Linked DNA regions of Homo sapiens: region 2 is linked to region 1. The links are contacts of gene promoters, found by promoter capture Hi-C in blood cells and fetal thymus (Javierre and others, 2016). All regions are on one chromosome and are shown on one strand. Each heading gives the region's core, a stretch centred on a gene start or on the middle of the fragment in contact. The rest is flanking DNA. Distances are from core to core; before and after follow the strand shown.

Evidence for each region. Contacts are between HindIII fragments. The CHiCAGO score rates a contact against its expected background, and 5 or more counts as called.
Region 2: a contact is called between the fragment with the promoter of ATP2B1 here and a fragment that was not itself captured in region 1, in 2 of 17 cell types (naive B cells and total B cells). The highest score is 10.3, in naive B cells.

What each region holds. Positions count from the first base shown.
Region 1 is chr12:90,258,679-90,262,420 of GRCh38, forward strand. All of the region lies in intron 2 of LOC105369892 (a long non-coding RNA gene), which reads left to right. Among named protein-coding and RNA genes, the nearest start is that of LINC02392, 33 kb to the right of the region's middle. The HindIII fragment of the contact is 637 bases long and covers 1,416-2,052 here.
Region 2 is chr12:89,707,349-89,711,001 of GRCh38, forward strand. ATP2B1 (ATPase plasma membrane Ca2+ transporting 1) reads right to left here and starts at 1,490. Exons shown (of 21, transcript NM_001366521.1): 1 at 1,248-1,490. It overlaps ATP2B1-AS1 (ATP2B1 antisense RNA 1), which reads left to right and starts at 1,607. Exons shown (of 1, transcript NR_028138.1): 1 at 1,607-3,653. RefSeq lists enhancers at 369-458, 469-568 and silencers at 759-988, 1,139-2,158, 2,179-2,728. The HindIII fragment of the contact is 7,681 bases long and covers 1-3,653 here.

The DNA of each region.
Region 1 (3,742 bases), core at 484-2,983:
CAGGGTTTCACCATGTTGCCAAGGCTGGTCTTGAACTCCTGAGGTCAAGAGATCCACACACCTTAGCTTCCCAAAGTGTTGGGATTACAGGTGTGAGCCACTGTGCCTGGCCTTGTTTTTCTTTATTTCCTTTTTTTTTTTTTTTTTTTTTTTTGTGACAGAGTCTCACTCTGTTGCCCAGGCTGGAGTGCAATGGCAGCATCTCGGCTCACTGCAACCTCTGCCACCCAGGTTCAAGTAATTCTCCTGCCTCAGCTTCCCGAGTAGCTGGGATTACAGGCATCCACCATCACACCCGGCTAATTTTTGTATTTTTTGTAGAGACAGGGTTTCACCATGTTGGCCAAGCTGGTCTTGAACTCCTGACGTCAGGTGATCTGCCCCAAAGTGCTGGGATTACAGGTGTGAGCCACCATGCCTGGCCCTGGCCTTGTTTTTCAATTTTGAGGTCAGTGTCCTCTGCTCATGGACACCTTTCAGACAAACTACCTGAGGACCACACTCTGCAGCTGCATGTTCCTGAATCTTGCCATTGCATTTTCCTGAGTATATTTGGTCTCTTTGACTCACTACACACACCCTCCCAAGATGGCACCCTTTACCCTGGATCTTGTTCCTGGGTTTAACAGATATTAGATGAGAGTTACCGTGGTTCACACCAAATTAGGTGGGGTATGTCAGAGAGTCGAGGATGAGGAAGGTGGATAGTTTGGGCTCTGGTTTAAAGGTTTATTATTGGAGAAAGATGTCATCTGAAGAAAGGGACTTCCATTTCCCATTTCTCCCTTCCTTCCTTTTTCCTTCCCTCTGCCCTATGGTAACCTTAGTCTAATCTCTGTCCTCAATCAGCAGGTTTGCTGACATTTAGAGGGCTGTTATGGCAGTCATGTCTTTCTGAGGCCTTGCCTTTTTAATGAACATTTGGCTGGGGAAAGGGGGCAATCTAGAACAGCTGTGTCCAAACTTTTTAGATTGCATGTCTTCTTACCAATAAAAAATTAAGCATTCTTCCCTATATGTATATTTACTTATTATTTGATATGCAATCTAGTGTTCCAGTGTATTATGCACATTTTCAAACACACGTAAAATATTGATTTAAAATAATGTGATGAAATATAAACATATTTGGGAGGCTGAGGCGGGAGGATCATGAAGTCAGGAGATTGAGATCATCCTGGCTAACATGGTGAAACCCCGTCTCTACTAAAAATAAAAAAAATTAGCCGGGCATGGTGGCGGGCGCCTGTAGTCCCAGCTACTTGGGAGGCTGAGGCAGGAGAATGGCGTGAACCTGGGAGGCGGAACTTGCAGTGAGCTCAGATCTCGCCACTGCACTCCAGCCTGGGCGACAGAGCAAGACTCCATCTCAAAATAAATAAATAAATAAATAAAAATTAAAAAATATAAACATAAGCTTCATTCTCTCTTTCCAGTCCGTGGGGAATTGTCAGGTACACTTCATGGGGTGGAGATACCCAGGTCTAGAGACACATCAGACTCTAGGGTGGATGCTTTACCAGATGGGCTGTGTGAGTGCCTGCCTTACCTGATTTTTTGGTCAATTTTGCACTGGAGTGCTGTCCAGGATGTAAGTGCCCTGACAAATATGCAAGCCTAGAGCCTCATCCTCAGGACGACTGCTGGGAATCTCTGCAGGGCCCTTGGGGTTGAACAGCTGCTTGCTGAGCCTTTGACCTGAGAACCAGAGACTTATGTGTCTCTTCACTCATATTTTCTTTCTTCATTGTTTAAGAGTTGTGCAGATCACCAAAAACATAATAAAAATAATGGGAGCTGTGTACAAGCCTCACTTGGGCAGAAAAGTTGGATATCAATCCCAAAATACAGATCTGCTTGCTGCATGGAATCTGAAGATTTAATGTGCTCATGTCCCATCTAACCACAGCACCCTTCTCAGGGTGATCTCACTCCTTATGGAAATAATGGAGTTGGATTGGTTTTTTTCAAGATTATTAGGGTGTGTTTATCATATTCTCTGGATTACTGAGTTTATAACCTCTGTTCCATGATGCCAGAAACAAAGTCAGAAGCTTCAGTGTGCAAGGCCTCATCATCCTCCCTAAACCTGGAGGGCAGATTTATTTTAACAGCTGTACATTACCTGATTGGAATAACGAGACTTGTGAAAAGGTCAAGGAGAAAGAGCTAAACAGCACATCTGTTCCAATCACAGAACCATATTTCTAGGAAGCTGGAAAAGCAAACATTCTAACATTCTATTTGTAGAAAATCCCAACAGTCATTTTAAGCATAATTTCACTGTGACTGTAAAAGAAAGTATTTGTCTTCTTCCTTCTTAATATTCCTTTTTCAAGAGATGGAGTTACATAGTGAAGTATTGCATCTGTCAGATGTTCTTTTGAACCCTGACAAAAAGTTTATGTGACTTTTTATTTTACCAAGCATTATTTTTTCTTCCACTAGTCCTATGTTTATCCTCAAAAACTTTATTGCAATCCTGGGCGTTCTGATTGAAAAGGAGTCACCAAGAATTCTGAATGTTTTCCTGGTGTGCTGTCACTCAAGATATCTTCTATAGTTCTTTTATCCACAACTCTTTTCAAATTAAATTTTATTAACTGAAATCATCCTCTTTCTAAAATAGGAAGGCATCCTGACTTGGACAAAGCTAAACTGTGCATTCCTTTTACTAAACTGTCAAGATTAATCCTTACTGTCCCTGCTGTTACAGTCTTAATTCTTCACTGACAACTGTGAGCACATGTGCTATGAGAAGAGACAGCTGGTTGAAGTGTCTCATTTTGACAAACATTATCTGTGGTTCAGTGTCAACCTGGGGAGATACAGCAAATGGCATTCCATTGAGATTGCTTCTTGGGCAGTGAACATTTTAACCAGTGACTTAGATCCTGGAGTAAAAAATATGCTTAGAATGTCTGTGATAGGGACTAAAGTTTGTAATGGGAGCAGATCTACTCCCTGACCTACTCTTCTCTACTTTAAAAACTCACTATGGCTTGGAGAAGTTATGGATGATTTTATATAAAGAAGTAGAAATCCCAGTAACAATTACATGTGCCACCTCTTTTGAATAAACTGTTATAAGGCAGGCAAAGACTTTCTACTGGGCTCTACCTTCATCCTAGACTGACTCCTTTATCTTTTCTTTGCTTCCATGAAGCTGAAGATTGTTTACTCTAATTCCTGTTTGCCACTGCCTGAGACCCAGCCTGGGTTTTCATCATCTCCACCGCTGTATTTTCTGGAAGAAAGAACCCTATTGGGGGTTGTTAAGGGTTTAGCTGCACACATACAAGGAAATAGATTTTTCTAAAATTCCAAATAATAAGGATGATGAAAATCTACAAAAACTTTTTAAAATAATACTAATAATAGGTTTTCTGGTCAAAAATACAAATAGAGGAAAGTCTAAGAATTCCTATCTTGATTCATTCACTTTGTTTCAGTCTAAAAGTGAGACATGCCAAATCCATTCAAATTCTGCTAAAACCAAGCTCTTCAGATTCTAAACTCGTAGATTCCCACTGGTCCAATGGGATTGCTTATGCTTTTCGGATTAGGCTTCCTGGTCTTCTCAGTGTATCTTCTATATTTTTCTCTCTGGATCTCAGGCTTATTACCAGTGTTCCAGAATTACTCATGGCTCTCTTGGGTCCTTTCCTTCCTCCTGGCAACTTGAAAGAGAATGACTATCAAAGAAGCCTCTTCTGATCCTCAAGTAATCCTGTACTGACAT
Region 2 (3,653 bases), core at 240-2,739, 550 kb before region 1:
CCTTATTTTAAAATAAGACTGTCCTCAGGTGGGGGAGGTTAAACACAACAAAGGCTTCCATGTTGACAGGCAGACAAGTTCAGATATATGCATATACCTACACACGTATGAAAAAAATCTATGTAGCTAATTTATCACGAACAGCAATCGATACCAACAGAAGCCATTAGATTATTAATAAACCAAGAAAAGTAGCGGGCACAGAAGCGAAAGGTGGCTGTCTGCAGCGCTCTAACCCAAAGAAAAGGTAAATATCAGCCTGTCGAGGAGGGTCGAGCCCTCCAAGTACCTGCAGACCCCTTTAACCCACCCGGACGCCCTGCCCTCCCCTCCGAGCCAAGCAGCGCACAGGGTGCGAGCACTCCCAGCGCTGCGAGTCCCGCAGAAAACTGGTGAATGAAATGCGCACAGAGACCAACCTGGCTGGTGACCGCGGCGCAGAACCAGGGGTCGCTAACCAGCTTAGCCACAGGATTCTCCCGCAGGATGGGATAAAGAGAGCACAGCCCCCACCCCACACCCCTGCCACTGGAACGCGGTCCTCCTACAGACTCCTTCCTCAAAAAGGGAGGTGGGGGCGCAGGCTTTTTTCTCTTAAACTAAGTGAATAAACACGAATCGGAAACAACTGTGAACATCCTGGGGGGCCAGACGGAAGGCGTGAGGAGAAAGACCAGGCGGCTCTCCAACTCCCGAGGAATCACCGTCCTGACACGCCAACAATCAACCACCAGGGCCAGGGGCCGACCAGGGGCCCCCGCTCCCCTCCCGCAGTGCGTCTGGGGGGCCGAGGCCAAGGATTAGAGGGGTGACCCTCCCGGGGCGCGGGGAGAGGGAGTGCCGGGCACGGTGCCCTCAAGGTCACCACGCGCCGTGGCGGGGGCGACCGGTGGCGGGATGGGCTGTGGCGCGGCCGAGGCGGCTTCGTGAAGCCGAAGACCTGCGGGTGTAGACCAGAAGCCCCAACAAGCCCCATCCCTCGGGCCCGGAGCAGCGACTCCCAGACTGACCCGGCGCTGAGGTGCACGGCGAGAAGCCCGCTCACCTTCACAATCTCCCGGCAAGAGGCAACCTGCGAGGGGCCCCGACCGCCCCCGTCAGCTTCTCCCGAATCCGGCGCAACCCGCTGCGCACCCAGCTATCAGGATCCCCGCCGCGACGCCCGACCTCCGTGCTCCGCCTGGCCTCCCCCGCAGGTGACCTGCCCCGCCGCCCCCGGCCGCGGGCGGGCGGCGGCCGCCACTCACCTCGCCCGGCAGTGGGAACCATTTTCCGAGGGGGAAGGAAAGGCAGGCTGCGGGAGGGTCGCGGGGCGTTAAGGGGCAGCGGGAAACGCAGAGGATGGGGGCTCCGTCCTCAGCGCGTCCGCAGCCGGCTCGCAGGGCTCGGGGCGCCACGCGGAGGTGCAGCTGCACCTCGGGGATGGGGCGGCCAAGGAGCCGAGAGGCTCGGCGTCCACCAGCCGGGGCTCCCTACTCACGCTGCACTGCGAGGAGGCGGCGGCGGCAGCGAAGGAGGAGGAGGCGGCGCCCGGCCGTCCCCGCCCAGAGCCCGGCAGCCACCGAGTGGCCGCCCGCGTCCCCGCAGGACCCGCCTCCTCGGCTCCGCAGAGCGGCACACAGGGCGCGCCGCGCTCGCTCGGCACGGGCAGCTCAGCCGGCCTCACGCCGCCGTCCGCAACAGCAGCCGCGGGCGGGGTGCAGCCACCTCCGTGAGCGCCGCAGCCCGCCCCACTCGGGGCGGGGCCCGCGGGCACCGGAGAGCGGACGGCCGAGCACGAGGGGGCTGCGCGCAGCTCCGGGCAGGGACCCCGTCTGCACCGGGTGGCCTGCAAGATTGCCGGGGTAGGCAGGGGGAGGAGAACGCTCACCCGTTCCGGTCTGGCGCTCCCTTTTCTCCACACCCACACGCCTCCCGCTCCACGCTGGCGGCGCAGCTGCTCCCGCTGCCACAGCCGCCACCGCCGCCGAAGCTCGCGCCGCCGCCGCTGCCGCCTTGGCTGAGCGCGGTCACGTGACGCGATCCGCGGGGAGCCTGGGGGCGGGCGAGTGCGCGCGCGCGCGCGCGGAGGAACCGCGGCTCGGACCGGGACTGGGAGCTGAGCGGCACTGGGAGGGCGTTTAAGGGGAGGACCCGGCGAGCGCGCCCTCGGCTGGCGAGCGCGCGCCTGGCGATTAGAACTTGCCGCGCGGTCGGGAAAGGGTGGCCGGAGTGAGGGGCGGAGGTGGGGACTTGCGCCTCCGCACGCCCCTCCCTTTCTTCCTTCCCCTGAGCGCCTTGGCTTGCCGCTGCCCCCGCCCCCTCCAGCGCGCCCCTTCCCTCCTGCCGCAGCCTGCGATTGGCTGAGAGGCTCTGACGTCCGTGTTTCCATGACGTGTTGGTGCAGGAGGGAGCGGCGGGGGAGGAGGGGGTGGCCAGGCGCGCGGGGAGGTGACTCCGTCAGTCACAGCTGCTGTTTCGGCGCGGGGCCGGGCCGCTGCCGCGACGTGTGGAGGCAGGAGAGCGATGATTGCCGCAGGAGAAGTGCGGGCGCCCTTCACCTGGGGCCCCTCCCGAACCGCCCCCGGGCCCATGCCCCTCCAGGGCCCAGGAGCGAGCCAGCGGGAGGGCGAGGGCGAGCGCTCCTGGCGAGGACAGATTAAGGCGAACCCCCAGTCAGCGGACATTTGAGCGGCTCCTCGCCGCGTCTCTGCCCCCACTCCAAACCGGACTCGACGCCTGTCCCGGGCCGTGACGCACGCACCGGAGGAAAAAGTGCTTCTCGGCTCGCTCCCTCTTTGGGGAAGAGAGCTCACTCCCCATGCGGGCGCGGGACACTCCATCTCTGTTCCTGCCGGTCGGGTCCGCAAACACCGGGGATCCCAGCTGCGGCGCCCAAAGGGTTAACGCAGGCGTTCGGCCAGTGCAAACCGGCCTCGCAGGATCCGCGCTTAAAATCCGGGTGTTTTCATTTTGGGTTTGTTTCTTCTACTATGCCAAGCTGGTGGCTCTCTTTTAATTCTCTTGTAACATCTCAACCCTGCACCCATCTTTCCTGAGGGGAAAAGGAAACGGGATAACTTGCGGTATTTCGATGCTCAAAGGTAACCGGCGGCTCTGCTCCAACCTTCAAGAGATTTTGCAAGTTGAAAAAAAAAAAAAAACCATCCTTCGTAACATCTACTTAAAAAAAAAAAAGCAAGTTTTCCTTCTTGTACACGCATATACACAGTAAAGATGTGTATCTTACCTAAGATACCGCGCTTCATCTTCATCTAATCTTTATTTGAACTCACCGTCGCCACTGGCCCAGAGACCTTGTCAGTGTTATTTTCAGTATCAGTTAATCAGAACAAAAAGATAAGTTCTGCAATCTTCTTTCTCTTAATTCCAGAACTGGAAAATTAATATTTATATAGCCTCCTCAAAAGCATACAGGCAATAGGAAGTATGGTATTATGTTCACGATCTGATGATAGCATTTGTTTTAAAATATTTTAAAAGATTAGACACAAAATGTGTAAAAGACGTTTAAAAGTGAATAAATATAAATCAATGCTGTTGCAAATAATTTTTTTATCAGTTTATGTATCTCACTAGGCTTGACATTACCAGCCTTCTGAGCTGTGCCCTTGATGTGTAAGATAAACGAACATTGAACAGAATGATAGCAT